3 separate regions of the Homo sapiens genome follow, and all the other regions are linked to region 3. Evidence: promoter capture Hi-C in 16 types of primary human blood cells and fetal thymus (Javierre and others, 2016). All regions are on one chromosome and are shown on one strand. The core of a region is centred on a gene start or on the middle of the fragment in contact, and the rest is flanking DNA. Distances in the headings are between cores, read along the strand shown. Region 1 has its middle 2.5 kb from the start of MIR3198-2. Region 2 overlaps LOC105378250 (a long non-coding RNA gene). Region 3 holds the start of HOXC8 (homeobox C8).

Region 1 (3,560 bases), core at 430-2,929, 220 kb before region 3:
CCTTTCCTGGTTTCCATGCTCTTCTCTGCTCCTAATGGTTCAGAGAATAAATATTAGGCTTCAGCAACCTAGGGATCCCTGGAAGAGTCATCTCATGGCTATTAGAACTTATGGAATACCACATCAAGCAAATGCAGTCTAAATCAGGTTTGAAAATATGTGAATTTGTAAACTTTGTATTTTATCTTTCTGATTTGCTTCACAAATACCAAAGAAACTTCTCTGAGGATGGAAGGCTTGCAGGTCAGGAACATGGTGTGAGGTCAGTTGGAAGTTAGGAGGAGGAAAGTATGTGGATAATCAAGAAATTATCGAATAATATAAGCCTGATGTAGCCCTGAATCTAATGGAGATAGGCAGAAACTCACAGAAGAGAGAAGTGAGGAAGATGAAGGGGTCACCAAACCCAGATATCCTCCCACTGATATGTGAGGCCTCTGGAGCGGAGCACTTGTTTCTACCATCTCTTACCTGCAATTCTCCCCTCTTGTTTTCCTTTCTTGCTGAGTTATAGGGTCTCCCCAGTCTAATCTCGTAAAGTCTTATGAAGACATCTGTAGGTTGGCTGGCTTAATGGTCCATGACCTCATAAACATGGGACAGGAGAGCCATTTGGTCCACTTCAGAGCCAGACCCTTCTGGACATTATTTATTTCCTACCATGGAAGCCTGAGACTGCTTGCCCTCTTCCCTTTCGATCTCTTTCTTGCTCTCTAAACATCATGTCACTTTGTCTCTGTCTCAGGCCCACTGGAAAGCACAACTCCAGGGTTTTGACACCCACGCTTGTATTCCTAAACTATGTCTTGGTTTTTGTTTCCCTCAGTGAGGGGCTGTGCCTGCATGGCGTTCATTCAGATGACCTCATCATTGCTCATAGCTCTCCTCCCAGGAATCTTGCCTCAGTGTGCTGGAGAAGTCAGGAACTGGGCAATTTTGCCTCTCCTTTTGTCTTCATTAAAGAGCTTCAGAGCTTGTGAAATCAGTGCAGCACTGGCAGCCTGGGGAAAATGGAGGATCACTGTGTGGGAATCCCCTTCATTGGATCACTGAGCACACAGTTCTATGTTTTTCTTTTTTTTTTTTTTTGAAATGGAGTCTCGCTCTTTTGCCAAGGCTGGAGTGCAGTGGCGTAATCTTGGCTTACTGCAACCTCTGCCTCCCAGGTTCAAGCGATTCTCCTGCCTCAACCTCCCGAGTAGCTGGGACTACAGGCGCCCACCACCACACCTGGCTAATTTTTGTTTTGTTTTGTTTGAGACAGAGTCTTGCTCTTGTTGCGTAGGCTGGAGTGCAATGGCATGATCTCAACTCACTGCAACCTCCGCCTCCCGGGTGCAAGCGATTCTCCTCTCTCAGCCTCCTGAGTAGCTAGGATTACAGGCGTGAGCCACTGTGCCCAGCCTAATTTTTTTTTTTTTTTTTTTTTTTTTTTAGTAGAGACAGGGTTTCCCCATGTTGACAAGGCTGGTCTCGAACTCCTGACCTCAAGTGATCTGCCCGCCTCGGCCTCCCAAAGTGTTGAGATTACAGGTGTGAGCCACAGCGCCTGGCCTGAGCACACAGTTCTAAATCGCTCTGTTAAGAGTCAGCAGCCCTCAGCCTCTGCTCTTTGGAAGTAAGTGTGAGCTGGGGGTGAAAGCCCCAGTACTGAGGGCTGCTGAATGTGAGTGTGTGCAGAGGAGAGCCCATTATATCCTGTGGACACACCAAAGTGCTCCCCAAGCCTTGAGAGTGACTTGTGCATCTGTGTTGGGGAACAGGAAGACAAGGTGAAAGCTGGGGGCCAACTGGTGTGTGTGGGCATGCCACACAGGCATTGCGGGGATTCTGTTGTTCAGGCCAAGATGAGGCAGCAGCCACTGTGAGAATACCCCAAGAATTCACCTGCTTAAAGTCACAGAGAAGATGAAGACAGATGAAGGGAAGGGTCTGATTCTCAGCTCTTTGGCTACTTGGCCTTTTTTCCTCTTCCCTGTTGCTCTCCTGCTTTCCCCTCCCACTCCGCAGCTGTAACATCTTGCTTTCCAGTTGCTGGCTCCCTCCTCTCTCTTAGCTTCTGCATTTATTTGTGAGGCTGTATTTTTTATGGTTTCTCCCCTTTGTCTACTATATTGTGTGTATTTTTCTCTTTGTCTTCTTTTCTTCCTTTTCTAGTCTCTCCACCCCATGTTCTCAACATCCCCTTTAAATTCCATAAGCAACCTCAATTTGGACATTTAATTTTAACCCCATCAAATTATTTCTTATAACAATCTGGGACTCTTTATGAGCTCTTTCTCCCCCATGCTGCTTCTGGAAACAGGTGCTTCTGTTTATGTGTATAATGTGATGCCCCCTCCCACACTGGGAGAGGTGATGCTGGCTCAATAGCCTCATGCCTCGTCTCAGCAAAGCGTTGTTTGATCATTTGGTTATGAGCCAAGGAGGGAGGAAGAGATGCTGAGAATCGAGCTTGCTGATATATTTGGGGGCTGCTGAGATGAAAAGGTTTAGGGTTATTATTGTAGCCTTTCCTTTTAATTCCTCTTTCTGCTGCTGCTATCTTCTGGAGAAGGAAGCTGGTAGGAAGCTGAGGTATTGACCACAGCTGCTGCAGCTTATGAAATTCTTACAAAATTAGCTATTAGGGAGGCTGAGGCAGGAGAATTGCTTGAACCCGGGAGGCAGAGATTGCGGTGAGCCGAGATCATGCCACTGCACTCCAGCCTGGGCAACAAGAGCAAAACTCTGTCTCAAAAAAAAAAGAACAAAAAGAAATTCTGCTTCTACATCTGCAGCAAGGGTAGGGGTAGGGATAGGGGGTGGAGATGGGGTTGAGGTAGGAGGGCAGGTAAACTAGGGTCCTTGCCTTTGCTGTGTAGGAAGGAATGGGAGAGTCCATTCCTTCAGACTGTTTCCATGCAGCACTTACTTATGCAGCCTGTTTCCCCTTTGCTTCTCCCCACTCCACTCCACACTATAATCCTCTGCTTCTGTACATTTCAGCTATTCTTGGTAGGAGCCAGGACAGCCCAGCTCCTAGACGCCTGGGCCTGTCCTCTGTCACATACCCCCTTGCTCTAGTTCCTGCCTTACCCTTCTAGTCCTGTCTGCGCATGGAGCTGGGAGATAGAGAGGATGGGGCTGCCACAATGCTCCCAGGAGAGAGCAGGGCTGGGGCTCCCTGCTGCTCAAGGGTGTGGTGCAGCCACATGTCTTGCTTCTGGAGCAGGTCACAGGATGCTTCCTCCGTGTTTTTTTCTGCCCTTTTAATTTCCCTCTCCCTAACCTTTTCACTGTTCATTGTCCTTTCTAGTTACTGTATTTTCCTTTTTATCGTCTTCTCAGTTCTTCCCATTTTCCTCTCCCATTTTTTGTTTTTTTTGATATGGAGTCTTGCTCTTGTTGCCCAGGCTGGAGTGCAATGGTGCGATATCGGCTCACTACACCTTCTGCCTCCTGGGTTCAAGTGATTTTCCTACCTCAGCCTCCCGAGTAGCTGGGATTACAGGTGCCCACCACTATGCCCAACTAGTTTTTGTATTTTTAGTAGAGACAGGGTTTCGCCATGTTGGGCA
Region 2 (3,744 bases), core at 395-2,894, 230 kb after region 3:
CCATTTTGCCCCTTCACACAGCCAAGCCTCAAGCAACACAGCCCGCTCGGTGTGCTCAGGACACTGCTTCACTTTCCTGTGCTTTCCCTAGCATTACTCCCTCTGCCTAGAATCCACTGCCCAGACCAGCACCCCCCGCCAAACCTGCCCAGGTGGTGAAATCCTATCTGTCCTTTAAGAGAGCCAACTCAAATGCCATTCCTCCAAAAAATGTCTCTGATTTCACCAATCAACCCTCACCACTGTGCCAACCCAAAAGGATCATCCTCCACTCTGAATTCCCAAGACCCTTTATTTACTCATATGTTACTTATGGCACTTATCACTTTCTACTTTGTATTGCGGCTATACCTTACTTTTTGTATTAGAATATAAGCTCCTTAAGGGCAGGGGCCATACTTCATTACATGTGCTATCGTTTCATAATGCCTAGAACATGATATACAATAAATATTTACTAAATCCATTATTTAACCAGCCAACCAAAGCTCAGAAGTCACATGTCAGGGAACATGTCACCTGTTGCAGCCCAAACATCACAGAAACTGACACTGAAGGACATCATAGAAAAATCAACCCTGCTTTCCCCCCAGAAAAAGCTCCAAATACCTCCCAACATTTTGCTTTTTTACGCACCACATGACATAATCCCATTTGGGTTCGTCTAACTCATGTAGCTTCATGTACTAATTAAGCTGTAAGACACAACAGGGCATGAATTTATTGTGCAATAATTCACACGCAGAATGTTTGCGCAGTGCTTGGGCGTGAGTTATGACACATTAATTCACGGCCTAGAGGGCCTCATTGCAATTACAGAACCATTTTTTAAATATCATCTGGGTTTAAAATACAAATATTGGTCTCCCCAGTCTTAAAACCCTTAGCCCCAAAATGCAGCTAGCCTCCTTTCTCCTCATTCTGCTTTATCAACTTAGCTGTTCTGATGGCAAAGAATGTAGAGTCCAATTCTTCGTTTTACTTCCCTAGAATCAGAGGGGCACTGTGAAAAGAGAGGAAGAGGGAGAATGGGGCAGAGACTTTATAACTATCTGCAAGAGAGAGAGAGGAGCTGGTCCTTGGGTAAGGAAACACTGCAGAAATGGATCCTGCAGCCAACTAAGGGTCTATTACTAAGAAAGGAGAAGGGCCAGAAAAGACTTTTATGAATTCTGACATTCAATAAACCTTACCCAAAGCAACAAGGCAAAATTCACTACAATGTTTATGTCCACAGTTAGGAGAGTGTGATGGGTAGGGAGAGAAGAAATAAGTCACCTGGCTCAGTAACTCATAACTAAAAACAATTCCTACTGTCTCCTCTCTCCCCAGGGTTCTGGGAGAGAAGGTGAGCTCACTTCTGCAGATGACTCTACTCACTGGCCACACCATGCTCTATAAACACCCTGCACCATCTGTGATGTCAGCTGCCAGCTGCCTGGAGAATCTGCCCTGCTCTGGGAGCTTGTATTAAAACACTCACTTATAACTCCCTATTAATTTTTCACGAGGAGTTATTTTTAACTTGCTCAAACCATTGTCTGAATATGCCAAATATATTTTCTTAATGAACGAGCCTGGCGTGTGGTTCCTCCTTCCCCTCCTCTCCTGCTGCTATTCAAATGGTCCCTTCCTCATGGGGCGCAGGGCTTGGATGAACTATTCACAGCAATGCCCCGGAAATGAGTAGTGGGGAACAGAGAAAACCAAGACACAAGGCTCACACTTTCCTCCCTACTCAGGCTTTGGTTTTGAGAGAACTTCAGGAATTTCAGGAGATGTTAACAGGTTTATAAAAACAGAAAGATCAAGTCAAAATTGAAAACTCTTCTCTACAGATTATCCAAAGGGACTCTTGGGTTATTGGATCAAATCATCTCTCTACAAATCCATCTAGACTCCTTTATTTGCCGTAATATTACCAGTCCCAATATTATGATTTCCTTGCAAGTAAGTGGGGTAGATACACAGTCAATTTTTAACTCATGGACTCTTTCTAAACTATAAATCTGATTGAGTTGTTCCCCCACTTAAAACCCTTCCGTGGTTCCCTTCTGCCCTCAGGATAAAGTCTAAAGTCCTTAGCCTAGCCCTTCCCAATTTCTTCATAATTTCACTCTGCTTATTCCTCTAGTACCATCATCTTCCCAGGTCGTGCTCCTGCCATGCAGTTCCACTCACCCTGCTCCCCTGCCTCTAATCCCCGCTCGGCCCTTTCACTCAGCGGATTCCTACTTATTTTTCAATTCCCAGTTTAGAAATTGCTTCCCTGGGAAGCCTCCCCTGGCTTTTTCTCTGGATTAGGTGCCCTTCCTATATCCTCTCATAGCATCTGTGCTTGCCCCACTTGGCATAAATTATCAAGATTCCAGTTCAGCTGCCTGTCTCCTCCACTAGACTCTGAGTTAGGAGCTAATAAATATTTGTTGAACAAATGTACAAACAGAGAAGAGAAAACCTGAAAGAGCAGATAATCCAAAATTCCTATCTGCTTGACTTTGAGATACATACTTTGTAGCCAAGCAACCTTTATAAATCTGACTCAGGTAAATATATAAATGGTATTACATTCCTTGTAGAAGGCAATCAAAATGAAAAGCGTGAAGGGAAAACCAACTGTGATAAAACCTTGACCGCAGATAATTCATGGCATGTATAAGCCACATGTAGGCGATAAAGAATTGTTTGCCATTGTGGATGCTTGTTTTAGAAATATCAGCCTGCCTTGGATTGCAGGGAACCTTCTAACCCTCAGTTAGCAGGTCCCTACTTATCTGAAGGCATCATGCTCAGCTCTCCGTAGGACATCCCCTAAGCCAGAGGTTGTCACTCGAGGGGCCATAATTAAGATACCTGGGGAATATTTTCAAACTTCATATCCTTACCCTCTGGAGATTATTTTACAACTAGCCCCTTACTTCTTGTGACTGCTCTAAACCATCCCAAATGACAAGAACCTGTCCTAGATTTAAAAGGGACGAGACTCTAAAACTTTCCTTCACAGGAAGGCAGCGTAGTTTACTAGTTAAGAGTAAGAGCTCTGTAGATAGACTGCTGGGGTCAAATCTCAGCTCAACCATTTCACAGCTACATGATTTTGGACAGATTCTTATCCTTATTTTATTTATTTATTTATTTATTTATTTATTTATTTATTTATGTTTTGTTTTGAGACGGAGTCTTGCTCTGTCACCCAGACTGGAGTGCAGTGGCGCGATCGCAGCTCACTGCAACCTCAGCCTCCAGGATTCAAGTGATTCTCTTGCCTCAGCCTCCCAAGTAGCTAGGATTAAAGGCACTCGCCACCATGCCCAGCTAATTTTGTCTCTGGACAAATTATTTACCCTCTATGTGCTTTAGTTTCCACAACTGAAAAATGGGAGTAAATAAACTTCATAGGGTTGTTAGGAAGATCAAATGCAGTAATGCTTGAAAAGTACTTAGCTCAGTACTTAGCAAAACAATATGTACTTAATACAATCTACCTAATACTTAATATTAAAATTTGATCCAAAGTCCTCCAACTTTGAAAATGAATTCATCTTTTTAAATGTCTAGCCTCAAAATCACCCACTGAAACTTAAGCTTGTTGGCTGGCCCTCATGAGAAAATAAAGACTGTTTTATTCTGTATAATTTACCTTGAATCTCTGAGAACTCTAATCAGATACCCTTGGGCCTGCTACTGGTAAACACTTTGGAGGGTCCTAGTCTTACTGAGTTAGAGCAGGCATTGAAAAGGCCA
Region 3 (3,731 bases), core at 688-3,187:
TTTGTTTGGCTTCACCTTGGGAGGTGGGGTGGGGGTGGGGGCTAGGGTCTGTTTGGAAACTGGGGCCTTTCAGGGGCTGGGGAGCCCTGTAGAATCCCCCCCACCAGGCCTGTAATCCTAGGAACTGGCCTTTGCAGCTTTGTTTACAAGTGCAGCAGGGCATTTAGTGAGCGAGGCTGGGGACAGACTGTTTCCAAAAGAAAGGAAAAAAAGCTGGGGGTAAAGAAGAGGGGCTCTGCCCACTGCCCTCTCCTTGTCTCTCTCTGCCTAATGCTTTTCCAATAAGAAAAATAATTGATCTGCTGGAATGTGTCACCGCTCCGCCTGATTGCTAACTGGAGACCAGCAAATAAATCATGGGCCATCCCCGCCGGAACTTGTCGCTTTATCGCTTCCCCCTGTACTTCGAAATTGGGCCATGAGGGGCCACCCTTGGAGGGGCTCATGACCTAAGCTACTCTGCAGGTCTCAGGGAGACCCCACAAGTCCTTGATTGGGGGGGCGGCTAGGGTCTTCTGGACCTCAGGAACCCCTAATCTCTATGGCCTCTCTCCTTTTGAGCACTCTTTTTTCCCCCTCCTCTCAGGCTCCCCCGTCTTCTCCCAACTGGGGGAAGTATAAAAAAGTTGGGGTAGTGGCCCTCAGGCTGGTTCTCTGAGAGGAGGTTATGGGTGCCCTAGAGAGCCAGAGAGCCTGTCCTTAGAGTCTCACCACACTCTGGCTAGGGCAGAGCAACAGGGGTCTGTCTCCCTTTGCCCCAAGACAGCCTGGCCAGTGTCCTGGACTCCAGGCTCCCTGCCTCTGGAGAAACTGGTTTGTTCCAAAGGCTGACAGTCTCAGGGTACTCAGGGTACCATTCCCAGCCACCTCCCCAACTTTGACTTTAGAGATGGGGAGTGGGAGAGTCAGAGAGAGACAGACAGACAGAGATGGAGAAAACGATTTTTAACCCTTTGCGGCCACACACCAGCTTTCTCTCACCTTCACCCCAATCCCCTAAATGTTCTAGGCACCCCCTCCCTGCCCCGCCCCAGCGGAGCCTTCCCAACTTCGAGAAAACCACCCAGGCACAGGCACGGGGGTGGGGCGGGAGAGACCCCAAAGCCAGGAGAAAAAGCGAGGGCAGACAAAAAGGAGGCGAGGGAGGGGGGGAAACCCTGGAGCGCGGGAGACCAAGGGGGAAAGAGAAAAGGCTTCTCACCGTGGGGTCTCATCCATGGAAACATGAGGCTGGGAGACGAGTTTTGATTTAAGTGGCCTTGTCCTTCGCTACTGTTAGTGTTGGCGGAGGATTTACAGTCGGGATATTGCACCACGCTCGCCTCTTGCTGAGCCCCATAAAGGGACTGTCTGGGGAGCGCCTCGTAGCCATAGAATTTGGAGGCGTCTCCGTGGCAGCTAAGCGAGCACGGGTTCTGCTGGTAGCCTGAGTTGGAGATGCCGGAGGTGCCGTGGTGGAAGAAGTCTTGAACGTGGTGCGAAGCGTGCTGGAAGCCGGGCGCCGAGCCGCCGGGCCCGTACACCAGCGCATGGCTCCTGCCCACGCTCTGAGGGAACCGGCAGTCGTAATAGGCCGGTTCCAGGGACTCGCCGGCTTTGTATTTGGAGAACAGGGGGTTGACGAAGTAGGAGCTCATGCTGGGTACATGAAAACCCGCGGCCCCCTCCCCTCTGGCTCACGAGTACCCCGCCCAGTACCCCCGAAACTCCCCTCCCCCCGGGACCGAACCCCAGGCCAGCTGGCTCCCCGGGACTGGGCTGGGCTGGTGGGCTGGGGGCTGGGCAGGTTGGGGGGCGCCTCGGTGCTGAGCTCGGCCGGATCAGCAGAGCTCCCGGGGCTGGGGCGCGGGCGGCGGCGGCGGCGGGCGGCGAGCGGGCGGCGGCGGCGGCGGCGGCGCTCCTCACTGTCGGTAGGTAGAGCTCGCGCTCTCTCACTTAGCTCTTTCCTCTAACAGCCCAGGCGAATTCCTCAGACTCCCGGCGGTGGCGGCGCTTACACGCGATTCGCGTTCATCAATCCACGACATGAAGACAGGCGAGAGAGAGAGAGAGAGAGAGAGAGAGAGAGAGAGAGAGAGAGAGAGAGAGAGAGAGATGGCGGGGGTTGAGGGGTACAGGGCTGGGGGGACCTGGAGGAAGGGGAGGGGAGGAGAGGGGGAGGGATGGGGGTGTGTGGTGTGTGTAGGGGGGTGGTGAGCCAGCCCCAGCTAATGGCTGGGGCCAGTTTTCCAGGGTACGAATTTAGATGTGAAGGTGCCTCTCGCCCCCAGCCTCGCTTCTCTTTTCCTTCTTCTCAGAGAGAGAGAGATACCTGAGCCAGCAGGTCAACCCAGGTTACCTCAACAGGTATAAGACCTCCAAGGGGATGAATACCTGCAAGCCAGAGCAGGGCCCCTAACCCAAAAGATGGGCTTCCTAGGGGGTCCCTAAGTCTGGAGACTTTGAGGAGGAACAAGCACACCATACTCCCAAATACTTCAGGCATCAGACCCTCCATCCCCTGGCCCCTCCCCAGGGTCCGAAGCTGTTCTGTCTTCTTCCTTAGATCCAGGAGACTCTCTTGCTACCTGCTATGGGTAGAGGAGAGGGTCAGAGGAGGTGGGGCTGGGGAAAACTCCATATACCCAGTCAGGGCCACACTGCCCCTTCAGACACGAGCCCCTGCATGGAGCAGGAAACCCAGGCAATGGCCACAAGCTTGGCTAGGGGCTCTGAGAGCAAAGCTGCTTATGGAGACTAAAAGGAAAGGGCAGCTGTGTGTCCCTGGTTTCTAGCTGGGCTGATTCAGGACATTTCTTCTTAGGAGACTATTTGCATCTGAGTTGGAGGGGACTGGAGCAGGCCTCTTACTTGTCCCCACATACCCCCATGCCATAGGAAATGCCAGCTCAGCCTGGTGGGGCCCCTGGCTTCACTGCAGCTCCCTCTTCCCCAGGCAGGCTGCCCAGGCCAGGATGTGGATGGGAACTATCAACAGACACTCTTTAAATATTTATCCACACTTTCTCTGGAGGGTTCCCCCATCCCCAAGACTGAATACGTTCAAGTTAATTCTAATGGATTAAAGAACCTTAGTCCATCAGCACCCTTCTCTGGCCATAAGTGTGTACAGTGATTTGGGCTTAACACAGACAGAGAGAAAAAGGGAGAAGGTGAGAATACATGCATGCTGTGTGCATATGAATGAAAAAGATGAGTAAGAATTATTTTTCCAGTCCTCTCCCTCACCAGGGTGTGAGGCTGTTACACCCAGGAAATCCTAGAGCACACTCAGGACACACACACACTGTACGTGCTACTTTTCACCCTGAGACACATCAAGTCCATGCTCAGTGTAAACTAGCACACACATGCCTGGAAGCATCCCTGCCACCTCACAGACACTGTACGCACATGTGCACACCCAGGCACACATGCATACATGCCTGACAAACACAGATGCATCTTTAGGTCTTTGCATTATGAAAGCAAAATGCTACCTGTTTTTCTTCCACATCCTGGGGGTTTCAGGGTTGGATGAGGAAGGAGGTGGTTAGGCAACCAGACCTTTTCCTTCCCCATCCGGAGCCCAGCTCTGGAGATGGAAGAAGGAATGGCGGTTCAGGGCAGGATGGTTTAGAGAGAATGAACACCTCCTCCCACCCAACCCAGTCCCCCTATTATCTAAGTAATTGCTGGGGAAATGGCCACTCTCTGTCAAATTCCCAAAGGAGATTCACTGGTGCAGGCAG

What was found. Contacts are between HindIII fragments. The CHiCAGO score rates a contact against its expected background, and 5 or more counts as called.
Region 1: a fragment that was not itself captured here is called in contact with the fragment with the promoter of HOXC8 in region 3 in 5 of 17 cell types (naive CD8 T cells, naive CD4 T cells, total CD4 T cells and 2 more); the score reaches 9.3 in naive CD8 T cells.
Region 2: a contact is called between a fragment that was not itself captured here and the fragment with the promoter of HOXC8 in region 3, in 1 of 17 cell types (erythroblasts). The highest score is 5.2, in erythroblasts.

What each region holds. Positions count from the first base shown.
Region 1 is chr12:54,227,148-54,230,707 of GRCh38, reverse strand. No RefSeq gene overlaps it. Among named protein-coding and RNA genes, the nearest start is that of MIR3198-2, 2.5 kb to the left of the region's middle. The HindIII fragment of the contact is 5,473 bases long and covers 1-3,560 here.
Region 2 is chr12:53,779,277-53,783,020 of GRCh38, reverse strand. The region is part of intron 1 of LOC105378250 (a long non-coding RNA gene); the gene reads right to left. Among named protein-coding and RNA genes, the nearest start is that of CISTR, 29 kb to the right of the region's middle. The HindIII fragment of the contact is 3,886 bases long and covers 1-3,587 here.
Region 3 is chr12:54,007,191-54,010,921 of GRCh38, reverse strand. HOXC8 (homeobox C8) reads right to left here and starts at 1,937. Exons shown (of 2, transcript NM_022658.4): 1 at 1,202-1,937. The coding sequence starts at 1,637. The HindIII fragment of the contact is 5,152 bases long and covers 1-2,699 here.